Regions from separate parts of the Homo sapiens genome. Here all the other regions are linked to region 4. The links are contacts of gene promoters, found by promoter capture Hi-C in blood cells and fetal thymus (Javierre and others, 2016). All regions are on one chromosome and are shown on one strand. Each heading gives the region's core, a stretch centred on a gene start or on the middle of the fragment in contact. The rest is flanking DNA. Distances are from core to core; before and after follow the strand shown. Region 1 holds the start of HAUS5 (HAUS augmin like complex subunit 5). Region 2 holds the start of CLIP3 (CAP-Gly domain containing linker protein 3). Region 3 overlaps RBM42 (RNA binding motif protein 42). Region 4 holds the start of NPHS1 (NPHS1 adhesion molecule, nephrin).

Region 1 (2,748 bases), core at 90-2,589, 240 kb after region 4:
CATATGCTTCTCACCTGTGGACTGTCCTGGTGGCCATACCTAGGAAAACGAGGCCAGAGTCAGCGGATGAGTGGGGCTTCTAGGGGGGAGGGCAATAGGTGTGATGCTGTGGTGGGGACAGGGCTAAATGGGAGTGGGGAAGACAGGAGGGGATAGCTTTAAGAAGCAGTTACCAGAGTAGGTTTCCCCGGATCTTCTTGACAGTCCTACAGTGCAGAGGCAGAAAGAGGAGTTACTATGGGCCTCACCTGTGCCCCCTCCCCTGCTCTAGCCCAGCTTACCTCTGACTGTGCACATGCTGCAAGATGTAGGCCCAGATGTCAGCCCCCTGGCCCAGACACAGCCTGTGGGGACAGTGTGTAAGCATATGCCTGGGGCAGCACACAGGGTGTGGGATCCTCATTCCTAGGGTGATGGTGGTAGGGAGTTTTTACTAGGGAGTTCTCACTTCTTGAGGAGGGAAGGCCCAAACTTTTTTTTGCCTTTTTTTTTTTTTTTTTTTTAAGAGACAGTCTCGCTCTGTCGCAGTGGTACGATCATAGCTCCTTGCAGCCTCAACCTCCTGGGCTCATGCGATCCTCCCACCTCAGCCTCCAGAGTAGCTAGGACTACAGGCAGGCACCACTACACCCGGCTAATTGGTAAAACATTTTTTTTGTAGGGACTGGATGTTTGCACTAAGTGTGGTGTTATTCTCATTCCCTGGGAAGGCGGGTGGTGGGGGAGCGCGGGAGAGGCGGGTGCTCCCTTTCTCCTGGGAGTGGGTTATCCCAGTCACATCCAGAGGTGGAGGTGGGGGATGTACTGCCAGGAAGTGCCATCTCATGACCAGACGTGGGGCATCACTCCTACAGCTTCAATCCCCGATGGGGTGGCCACGGCTAACTCCTGAGTGTCCTTCTTGGTTAGGTTAAGGGAGGGAGGGGAGGTGCTGCGGGGACAGCCTCACTCTGGAGATCCTATTTCCATAAGGAGCGAGGTCTTAGCTAACTCGTGGAGGATCCTCACCAGTGCTAGGGACCTCACTCTGGGGAGCCTCCCAGGGTAGGGAGCCCTCAGTAAGTCGGGTCACTCTCGATGGGGAATTGGGGGGAGTCGAGTCCTCAATGAGGGGTGGAGTTCTCACTCCCGGAGACTCAATCTCCAGGGTGGGGTGTCCTCACTCCAGGAGCGGTCCTCACCTGCGCAGCGTCGATTCCGGGGCCCGGGCCGCCACGGGCACCCCCATCTCTTCGACCGCCCAGCAACCCAGTTCCCGCGCTTCCTGCGCTAGCTCCATGACAGCGCCGCGGCGGCGACACCGCCTCCCTCAGCCTCTTCAAGTGTGGCGCCCGCCTCTGACGTCACGGGCGCGCCAACAGTGACGTCATCGGTTGCCGGGCAGACAGCGGGCTCGGGCGCTGCATAGTAATCTTAGCGCGGTCAGGCTGGGTCTTGCAGCGCTCACTCTTCCCAGGTAGGTCTCCTTGAGTGGAAATGAAAAGGGCGTGGAGAGACTGCAGCCCCGCCCGCCTTCCCTCGTTCTCCCGCTCACTACCAGCTAACCCGAAAGAGGCAAAACAGTCCTTGATGCTTCCATTTATTTTCTTTTTCTTCTTTTAACTAAACACTTTTATTTTAATAGAGATGGGATCTCACTTGTTGCCCAGGCTAGTCTCAGCTTCTGGGCTCTTGAACTCCTGGGCTCAAGCGATCCTCCCGCCTCGGCCTCCCAAAATGTTGGGATTACAGGCGTGAGCCACCACGCTCACCCCCTTTATTTTCTTGACAAAATGGGACTTGCGTCCTAGGAGGACTGGAACCAGGCAATGAGATCCTGGACTTACTGCTCTTTGATTTCAGAAACAGGTGTCTCATGTCTGAGTGGAGGGTAGGGGCAGAGAGCATGACCCTAACATTTCCCTGGCATGCGTTTTCCCATTCATTCGTGCTTACCATTCCATAAACTCAGGGAGCTGACCCTGTGCTGGGTGATGCTGGGGACACCATGGTGACCACAACAGCCCTGGTCCCTATTGTACGGAGCTCACAGTTGAGTGGGGAGACAGACGCACCACCAGGTAGGGGTGGTAAAAATAAGCAGCAGGGGTGGGTCAATTTGGGACACAGCAGGTGTGAGAGGTCTGCGCTAGACCAGCAGTCCCCAACCTTTTGAGCATCAGGGACTGGTTTCATGGAAGACAATTTTTCCACAGTCTGGGGGATGGAGGGTGGGAGCAGTGGATGGTTTCGGGATGAAACTGTTCCACTTCAGGTCGTGAGGCATTATATTCTCTGTCTCTCTCTCTCTTTTTTTTTTTCTTCCCTGTTTTTTTTTTTGAGGTGAAGTCTCCCTCTTTCACCCAGGCTGGAGTGCAGTGGCCCGATCTCGGCTCAGCGCAATCTTTGCCTCCGGGGTTCAAGCGATTCTACTGCCTCAGCCTCCTGAGTAGCTGGGATTACAGGCGCCCGCTACCATGCCCAGCTAATTTTTGTATTTTTAGTAGAGACGGGGTTTCACCATGTTGGCCAGGCTGGTCTTGAACTCCTGACCTTAAGTGATCAGCCCATCTCAGCCTCCCAAAGTGCTAGCATTACAGGTGTGAGCCACCATGCCCCGCCTAAGCATTAGATTCTCATAAGGAGTGCGCAATCTAGATCCTTCGTATGCACAGTTCACAATAGGGTTTGCGCTCCTGTAAGAATCTAATGCCGCTCCTGATCTGGCAGGAGGTGGAGCTCAGGCAGTGATGCTCACCCATACGCCAC
Region 2 (2,700 bases), core at 32-2,531, 180 kb before region 4:
GACCCCTCTGAGGGAAAGAGGGCTCCAAAGTGACAGGTGTTCATGGGTCCCTGTGGCTGCATGTTGGAGGAGGACGGGGACAGCAGGTAAGAGGCTGCTGCCGTAGTGCTGGTGGCAGAAGAAGAAGGATGGACCAAGATGAGGGCCCAGGGTAGCGGTGGGGAGAGTGAGATCCTGGAAATCTTTTGGAGATGGAGCTACTGGACCTGTGCATTAGAAGGATGAGGTGTTCAAGGCTGTCACCCAGCCCCATCCAGGCTGGGATGATTTGAGGCAGAGCAGGCTACAGCTCCAGGTGGGAAGCCAAGCCATGACAATGGAGCCAGGACCCTGGGCTGGCTTCAGGAGGCCTCCGTGGGGAAGATACAGGTTCTGAGAGAGTTGGAGGGGTCAATCGGCAGATCTGTTTCCCAGACACTGCTACAGGCATGTAGCATGGTGATTAAGAATCAAAGCTGGGCATGGTGACTCGTGCCTGTAATCTCAGCGCTTTGGGTGGCAGGGGCAGGAGGATCCCTTGAGGTCAGGAGTTCAAGACCAGCCTGGGCAACATGGCAAAACCCTGTCTCAAAAAAAATTCTCCAGACATGGTGGCATGCACGTGTGGTCTCGGCTACTCGGGAGGTTGAGGTGGGAGGATGGCTTGAGCCCAGAAGTTTGACGCTGCAGTGAGCCAAGATCACAACACTGCACAGTAGCCTGGGTGACAGAGTGAGACCCTGTCTAGGAAATAATAAAAATAAAAATCAGACTTTACAGACTGTCTGGTTTCAAATGTTCGCTCCATCACCTACTCATGTACTTTTGGGCAAGCTGCTTAACCTCTGGGCCCCAGTGTGTGAGCCTCGCATTATGATGGTAAGGATGAGATGATCATGATAGGAGTCTCTAGGAAATCACCCCTCTGAGGCACCCATTATGAATGGTGAGCTTGGAGAAGGGGTCCGGTCTAGGGTCCTAGAGAGAGGGTCCCCTAGAGGGTCCCCATCGTCACCACGCCCCAAGACCACTGCCCTCACCGGCCTGGTTTGCAGGCGTGGGGGAAGGGGATGGAGAAGATCTGTGTCCGCTCTCTCAGCCCTCTCTTTTGCCGTTGTATCTGCTCATCTCGCTCCTTTCCGTAGCCATCTCTTCCTCTCCCAGTGCCCGGAGGCTCTCCCCTTTCAGTCGCCGCCTCTGGCCCCTCCATCAATGCGAGCGCCTCCCGGTCCCTCCTCCTGGTCCCTCCTCCCCCGCCGCCGGTAGGGGGGCAGCAGGCGCATGCGCAGTCGCGCCCCTCCCTCTCCGCCCCCACCCCCTGTCGGCGTCTGGGCCTCGTCCCCTTCTCTCTGTCTCCCTTGCCTCCCCCATCACGTCCCCTGACACCGACACCCCATTGCTCCCACAGTCTCCCCAGTCTCCACTTTGGTCCCCAGCGCTGTCTGCCCGAGGTAAGATGGGGAGGGGGCGGCCCGCGGAGAAGGGGAGGGGCGAAGCATCCTGAATCCCGAGATAAACAAACCCGGGGAGGGGGCAGCCGCGACTGAGGGGCCTGACGCGGGAGGAGAAGAATGGGGGGCTGGGCCTGGGGGAGGTGGCAGGCGCTGGGCGCACACACCGGGGCCCTCTATGGGTAACGGGGGTCCCTATGGTTGCCCAAGATCCAGTTGCGCGGAGGCCACCCGGGGCCCTGGAAGCTCCTAGGGGCTTGGACCCTGGAGCCTGCCGGGCACCCTCTCCAGCTGACCTCTGCCTCCAGGATTTGCCTGAAGGCTGCCCCCAACTCTGCACCCGCCCCCCGAGGGCCACCGAGGACCATGACTAAGACAGATCCTGCCCCGATGGCCCCGCCACCCCGAGGAGAGGAGGAAGAAGAGGAGGAGGAGGATGAACCCGTCCCCGAGGCCCCCAGCCCCACCCAGGAGCGCCGGCAGAAGCCTGTTGTGCACCCCTCGGCACCTGCCCCCCTCCCTAAGGACTACGGTAACCACTGTCCCCACCCTGGAATCTGGCCTGGAGCGTTGGGTGGCCGGGGAGGGTGGGCTGTGCTCTGCTGGTGGTGATGGTGGGAGAATTCTGGGGAATTTGAAGGTGGTCCAGAGGAATCTTGGCTGCAGAGCACCCCTCGTTAATTCATTCATTCACCCATTGGAGAATGGAATTGTAATACTCCTAGTCTTTGACTCATGACACATCATTCCATCATTTAGTCATTCAACAATCATTTTTTGAAAGCGGCTGTGGACCTGGCTTTATGCTAGGGGCTGGGGCCACAGCAGGGGGCAAGAGAGACCCAGTCTTTGCCCTGAGACAACTCACAGGCCTCAGTAACAGCCACACAAATAGGTATTAAACCATAATGTAATTTTTCACATTTAGGTTTATATGCAAGAAAGAAAAATATAATGTAATATAAATATGTAATTACAAGACATTATGAAAATTGTATTTACCATAAACAAGCTGCTGCAAGAGTTTTTTAAGACATTGTTTCCCTGAGGAGGTTACAGTTGAGAAGACTGGAGGGTGAGTTGGGGTTAACTAAGAGAAGGGTCAGGGGAAAGGGCTCCCAGGAGAGGTAACCGCTGGGTAAAGGATCTGAGGTAGGAGGGTATGGAGCTGAGAGGGCGGCCTCTTGGAGAAACTGAAAGTGTCTAATCATTGACCGAGCGATATTTATCGAGTGCTGCTACTCTGTGACAAGCCTTATGCTGGGTGCCG
Region 3 (2,700 bases), core at 116-2,615, 210 kb after region 4:
TGCACAGTCTCTGATGGTTCTCATCTCTGCCTCTGAGCCTCCTGCTCACAGCGCCATCTCTACCTCTGCTTGCCACATTCTATGTGTGTGTGTCTCTTCTTGTTCTCAGGAAGACTTGTGTGCATTAAAAAAAAAGATAAACATTTAGGGGGTACAAGTGCAGATTCCTTACTGGATATATGTCAGTATATCCAGTATACTGGCCTGGGCCTTTAGTGCACCCGAATGGTGAGCAACGTACCCAACTGGTAACTGTTCAGCTTCCCCCACGCTCCCACCTTTTGGAGTCTGCAGTGCCTGTTACCCCACTCTGCATGTCCACGTGTACCTGCTGTTCTGCTCCCACTTGGAAGTGAGAATCACATGCATTTGGAAGCGTCCTTTCTGGAGCCATCCTCTCTTCCCATCTCCTCCCGTGACCCTATGCTTGCTGTCAGTACAAGGGGGGTCAGGGGTAGAAAAGACTAGTGATGGGGGGAAGGGGCTTTGAGGATCCTGGGGCTGGGTGGTCTGGCCCAGGTGGCAGGGGGCTAAAGGGCACTTCCTGCCAGGGAGGCTCTCACCCTCTGACCAGACTGGAAAATGTGACGTCAGAGAGGGGGCAGTAAGGCGGGGAAGACAGGAACAGGAGAAATTCGACACCTCTCCTGGGGGACCTCGGTCCCTGAGAGGCCTTGGTATTGTCCATCCCCCGACTTATGCCCCACAAAGTCCTGCCCAACCTGCTCCCTCCTAATGGAGGGTTCCGATGGCTGTGTCCCTGGGAGACCCTCCACTCCTCCCCATACTCAAACCTGCCATCTCCCTCCTCTGGCCCAGTCCCTGCCCCAGCCTTCTAGACTTCCAGCCACAGTGGTGGTCGCAGGGCGTTTTTTTTTTTTTTTTTTTGAGACAGAATCTCACTCTGTCACTAAGGCTGGAGTGCAGTGGCGCGATCTCAGCTCACTGCAACCTCCTTTTACCAGGTTCAAGCGATTCTCCTGCCTCAGCCCTCCCAAGTAGCTGGGACTACATGTGCCCGCCACCACGCCCAACTAATTTTTGTATTTTTCAGTAGGCACAGGGTTTCACTATGTTGGCCAGGCTGGTCTCGAACTCGTGACCTCAAGTGATCTGCCTGCCTCCCAAAGTGCTGGGATTACAGGCGTGCGCCACCGCACCCAGCCGGTCACAGGGCCCTTTCTACAGCGCACATCTGTGCTGCCCAGGACCTTGCTGCTGCTTGAATTTTCTCAGCTTTTTGGGGCTTGCTGCTGCCTTCTGCGTAAAGCTTAAGCCCTCAGCCTGGCATTCAAGGCCCTGCACAGACACCTCTTCAGACAGGCAGAGGCCAGCTTGGAGCTGGGAAGAGAGGGGAACAGACCCCAAGTCTCTGTTCTCTCTATCTGTGGGTCTCTCCTCCTTTTTCATTTCCCAGCTCCAAGGGAGAGAACAGAGACCAACAGGGATATAGAAGCTTAGAGACAAGAAATGGAGGGGTACCCACAGAGACAGAGATAGAGGTGCCCACCGAGACTTAGAGCATGGTGAGCTGGCTGGGCATGGCAGACTGGAGAAGCTGGAAAGCCCCAGAGGAGACTTGGGGGTGGACGGTTCCTTCAGGAAGGGCCCCCTCACCCACAGGTCAGCGCCCCCATCCTGCCCTGACCACTCTGGGCTCTTATCGTCAGGGCACCGGGCCTATTTTCTGCACTGGACCTTGAGCTCTAACGGTGCAGGGCCCAGGACTTTTAGTCACCATTGTGTCCTCAAGCACTGTTCAGACCCTTGGTGAGAGTCTGCTGGATGGAAGAGGGCCTAGAAGCCTGTGAGCTCCAGAAGGGAAGGGCCTAGATCTCCTACCTTGGTGCTGAGAACACAGGAAGTAGCCAGGACACGGGGATGGGCCTCAGCTTGGCTTCACCCTTGCCATTGGCCCCCCTTTCTCCTCTGGAATAAGCAGCACTCAGCATGTGTGGAAGAGGTTTGAAGAGGGAATGGGTGCGCAGGAAGGGCTCAGAAGCCCCCGCCTGGGTGTTTGCCTGGGTAAACTCTCAAGGCTCCCCGCCATTTCCAGCTGTGGGGAAGCCAAGCCCTGCTCCCCACAGCGTGCTTCCATGCCCAGCCAGGGGTGGAAATGAACGTAAATTTATTGAAACTGGTTTTGGGGCAGGGGATGGGTGGACAGCTGGGGGTTTTCCAAAGAGAACTGAGGGAGGAGCCAGCGCCCGGCCAGGTGGGAGCGGGTGCCTGGCCACAGACCCTATCTCAGGCCCAGCTTCTTCTTTTCCTTCTGCTTCTTGCGGACCACGTCCAGATTCCGGTCCTTCCACATGCTCTTGCGAAGCTTGATGGGGCGCGAGCCCACATACTTCCCTGTGGAGACAGAGGGTTCAAGGCAGGCTCGGGTCAGGCTTAGGCCAGCGCCTGCCGCGCCTGCAGTTCCCAGGGGAGGCCGCACCCACCATTCATCTCACGCATGGCGCGCACGTAGTCGCTGGGGTCCTTGAAGCTGACGAAGCCGTAGCCCTTGGTCTTGCCTGTGCGCTTGTCACGGATCACCTTGGCCTTAAGGAAGGATGGGAAGCGGCTGAAGGCGCGTGCCAAGATGTCATCGTTCACCTCATTGCCCAGATCCCCACAGAAGATCCGGAAGTCATCTGGGGATGGGGAAGAGATGACATCAGAGGATGCAGAGGCCTTGCCCAGTGTCTACCTTGT
Region 4 (2,700 bases), core at 201-2,700:
AGAATCGCTTGGACCTGGGAGGCGGAGGTTACAGTGAGCCAACATCGCACCATTGCACTCCAGCCTGGGTGACAGAGCAAGACTCCCTCTCAAAAAAAAAAAAAAAAAAAAAAAAATAGCCAGAGTGGTGATGCGGGCCTGTAGTCCCAGCTACTCAGGAGGCTGAGGCAGAAAGAACACTTGAGCCTAGGAGGTTTGAGGCTTCAATGAGCCATGATCACACCACTGCACTCCAGCCTGGGCAATAGAGAAAGACCCTGTCTCTACAAACAAATTTTAAAAAATTAGCTGGAGTGGTGGTGTGCACCTGTAGTCCCAGCTATTCAGGAGGCTGAGGCAGGAGGATCACCTGAGCCCAGGAAGTTGAGGCTGCAATGAACCAAGATCATGCCACTGCCCTCCAGCCTGGGCAACAGAGCAAGATTCCATCTCAAAAGAAAGAAAGATAAATCAAGATAGATAGAGGGAGGGAGAGAGAGAGACATGGAGAAGGAAAGAAGAGATGGGAGAGAGGGCAAGAAAAAGAGGGAGAAGAAAGCTCATGCAGTCCTTGCCAAAGGGCGCCCACTTTGGGCTCACACTGCACCCACACTGGGGGCCGGTGGAATTGGACTCTGCCTTTTACTCCCGCCCACACCCTGTGCACTCCCACGTAAGACACTGTCACACACACGCTCTCCACATGCTTATTACAGATCGCAGTTCACTCTAACCTTCCCCACTCTCACACCCACGTACACACATGCATATCTTCCCTCTCTCCCACACTCTCCCAGCCTGTCACACTCACTCTTGCATCCTCCCCAGCAGAGATCCCTGACATCATTTAGGCACTGATGTCTACTAAAAAAGGAAGGGAGGCCAGGTGCGGTGGCTCATGTCTGTAATCCCAGCATTTTGGGAGGCTGAGGCAGATGGATCACCTGAGGTCAGGAGTTCGAGACCAGCGTGGCCAACATGATGAAACCCCGTCTCTAGTAAAAATACAAAAATTAGCCAGGCATGGTGCTATATACCTGTAGCACCAGCTACTTGGGAGACAGAGGTGGGAGAATTACTTGAACCTGGGAGGTTCAAGCCATGGGAGGTGGAAGTTGCAGTGAGCCGAGATGCCACTGCACTCCAGCCTGAGCAACAGAGCAAGACTATCTCAAGAAAAGAAAGAAAGAAAGAAAGAGACTTGCCAAGGTCATGTATCAGGGCAAGGAAGAGCTGGGGGCCCAGCTGGCTGCTCCCCTGCTGAGCTGGGAGACCACCTTGATCTGACTTCTCCCATCTTCCCAGCCTAAGCCAGGCCCTGGGGTCACGGAGGCTGGGGAGGCACCGAGGAACGCGCCTGGCATGTGCTGACAGGGGATTTTATGCTCCAGCTGGGCCAGCTGGGAGGAGCCTGCTGGGCAGAGGCCAGAGCTGGGGGCTCTGGAAGGTACCTGGGGGAGGTTGCACTGTGAGAATGAGCTCAAGCTGGGTCAGAGAGCAGGGCTGACTCTGCCAGTGCCTGCATCAGCCTCATCGCTCTCCTAGGCTCCTGGCCTGCTGGACTCTGGGCTGCAGGTCCTTCTTGAAAGGCTGTGAGTAGTGAGACAAGGAGCAGGAGTGAGGGGTGGCAGGAGAGAAGATAGAGATTGAGAGAGAGAGAGAGAGAGAGACAGAGAGAGAGGAAGAGACAGAGACAAAAGGAGAGAGAACGGCTTAGACAAGGAGAGAAAGATGGAAAGATAAAGAGACTGGGCGCAGTGGCTCACGCCTGTAATCCCAACACTTGGGGAGGCCAAGGTGGGAGGATGGCTTGAAGGAAAGAGTCTGAGATCAACCTGGCCAACATAGTGAGACCCCGTCTCTAAAAAAAAAAAAAAGAAAAAAAAAAGAAAAAAGAAAAAAAAGTTTTTTTAAAGAGACAGAGAAAGAGACTCAGAGATTGAGACTGAGAGCAAGACAGAGAGAGATACTCACAGGGAAGAGGGGAAGAGGAAAACGAGAAAGGGAGGAGAGTAACGGAAAGAGATAAAAAAGAAAAGCAGGTGGCAGAGACACACAGAGAGGGACCCAGAGAAAGCCAGACAGACGCAGGTGGCTGGCAGCGGGCGCTGTGGGGGTCACAGTAGGGGGACCTGTGATGGCCCTGGGGACGACGCTCAGGGCTTCTCTCCTGCTCCTGGGGCTGCTGACTGAAGGTGAGTGGGATCCCAGCCTTGTACCCAGCGCCAAGTGGCCCCCATTTCCCACTTACCTTCCCTAGACAAACCCTCTGCCCTTTCCTTGCACCGCGCTGTGTCCTCAGGCCTGGCGCAGTTGGCGATTCCTGCCTCCGTTCCCCGGGGCTTCTGGGCCCTGCCTGAAAACCTGACGGTGGTGGAGGGGGCCTCAGTGGAGCTGCGTTGTGGGGTCAGCACCCCTGGCAGTGCGGTGCAATGGGCCAAAGATGGGCTGCTCCTGGGCCCCGACCCCAGGATCCCAGGCTTCCCGAGGTACCGCCTGGAAGGGGACCCTGCTAGAGGTAAGGGATCAGAGCCTGAGACCCTCAGCCACCAGCGGAAGCTGCGGCCCTGACTTCCGGCTCCCCCTGCAGGTGAATTCCACCTGCACATCGAGGCCTGTGACCTCAGCGATGACGCGGAGTATGAGTGCCAGGTCGGCCGCTCTGAGATGGGGCCCGAGCTCGTGTCTCCCAGAGTGATCCTCTCCATCCTGGGTATGGGT

The links. Contacts are between HindIII fragments. The CHiCAGO score rates a contact against its expected background, and 5 or more counts as called.
Region 1: the fragment with the promoter of HAUS5 here is called in contact with the fragment with the promoter of NPHS1 in region 4 in 3 of 17 cell types (M1 macrophages, M2 macrophages and M0 macrophages); the score reaches 7.1 in M1 macrophages.
Region 2: a contact is called between the fragment with the promoter of CLIP3 here and the fragment with the promoter of NPHS1 in region 4, in 10 of 17 cell types (monocytes, fetal thymus, activated CD4 T cells and 7 more). The highest score is 10.6, in monocytes.
Region 3: a contact is called between a fragment that was not itself captured here and the fragment with the promoter of NPHS1 in region 4, in 1 of 17 cell types (M0 macrophages). The highest score is 5.8, in M0 macrophages.

The regions. Positions count from the first base shown.
Region 1 is chr19:35,611,326-35,614,073 of GRCh38, reverse strand. HAUS5 (HAUS augmin like complex subunit 5) reads right to left here and starts at 1,339. Exons shown (of 19, transcript NM_015302.2): 1 at 1,182-1,339; 2 at 282-344; 3 at 174-206; 4 at 15-39. The coding sequence starts at 1,279. It overlaps HAUS5-DT (HAUS5 divergent transcript), which reads left to right and starts at 1,410. Exons shown (of 2, transcript NR_186318.1): 1 at 1,410-1,456. RefSeq lists enhancers at 1,202-1,461, 1,050-1,605. The HindIII fragment of the contact is 7,658 bases long and covers 1-2,748 here.
Region 2 is chr19:36,031,454-36,034,153 of GRCh38, reverse strand. CLIP3 (CAP-Gly domain containing linker protein 3) reads left to right here and starts at 1,281. Exons shown (of 14, transcript NM_015526.3): 1 at 1,281-1,430; 2 at 1,739-1,962. The coding sequence starts at 1,797. All of the region lies in intron 3 of LOC101927572 (a long non-coding RNA gene), which reads right to left. The HindIII fragment of the contact is 8,202 bases long and covers 1-2,700 here.
Region 3 is chr19:35,637,097-35,639,796 of GRCh38, reverse strand. It overlaps RBM42 (RNA binding motif protein 42), which reads right to left. Exons shown (of 10, transcript NM_024321.5): 9 at 2,445-2,639; 10 at 2,112-2,355. The coding sequence ends at 2,243. Among named protein-coding and RNA genes, the nearest start is that of ETV2, 3.3 kb to the left of the region's middle. The HindIII fragment of the contact is 186 bases long and covers 1,273-1,458 here.
Region 4 is chr19:35,851,254-35,853,953 of GRCh38, reverse strand. It overlaps NPHS1 (NPHS1 adhesion molecule, nephrin), which reads left to right and starts at 1,450. Exons shown (of 29, transcript NM_004646.4): 1 at 1,450-2,174; 2 at 2,282-2,497; 3 at 2,570-2,692. The coding sequence starts at 2,117. It also overlaps a transcript of KIRREL2 not described here. RefSeq lists enhancers at 1,522-2,163, 2,164-2,700. The HindIII fragment of the contact is 3,857 bases long and covers 1-2,700 here.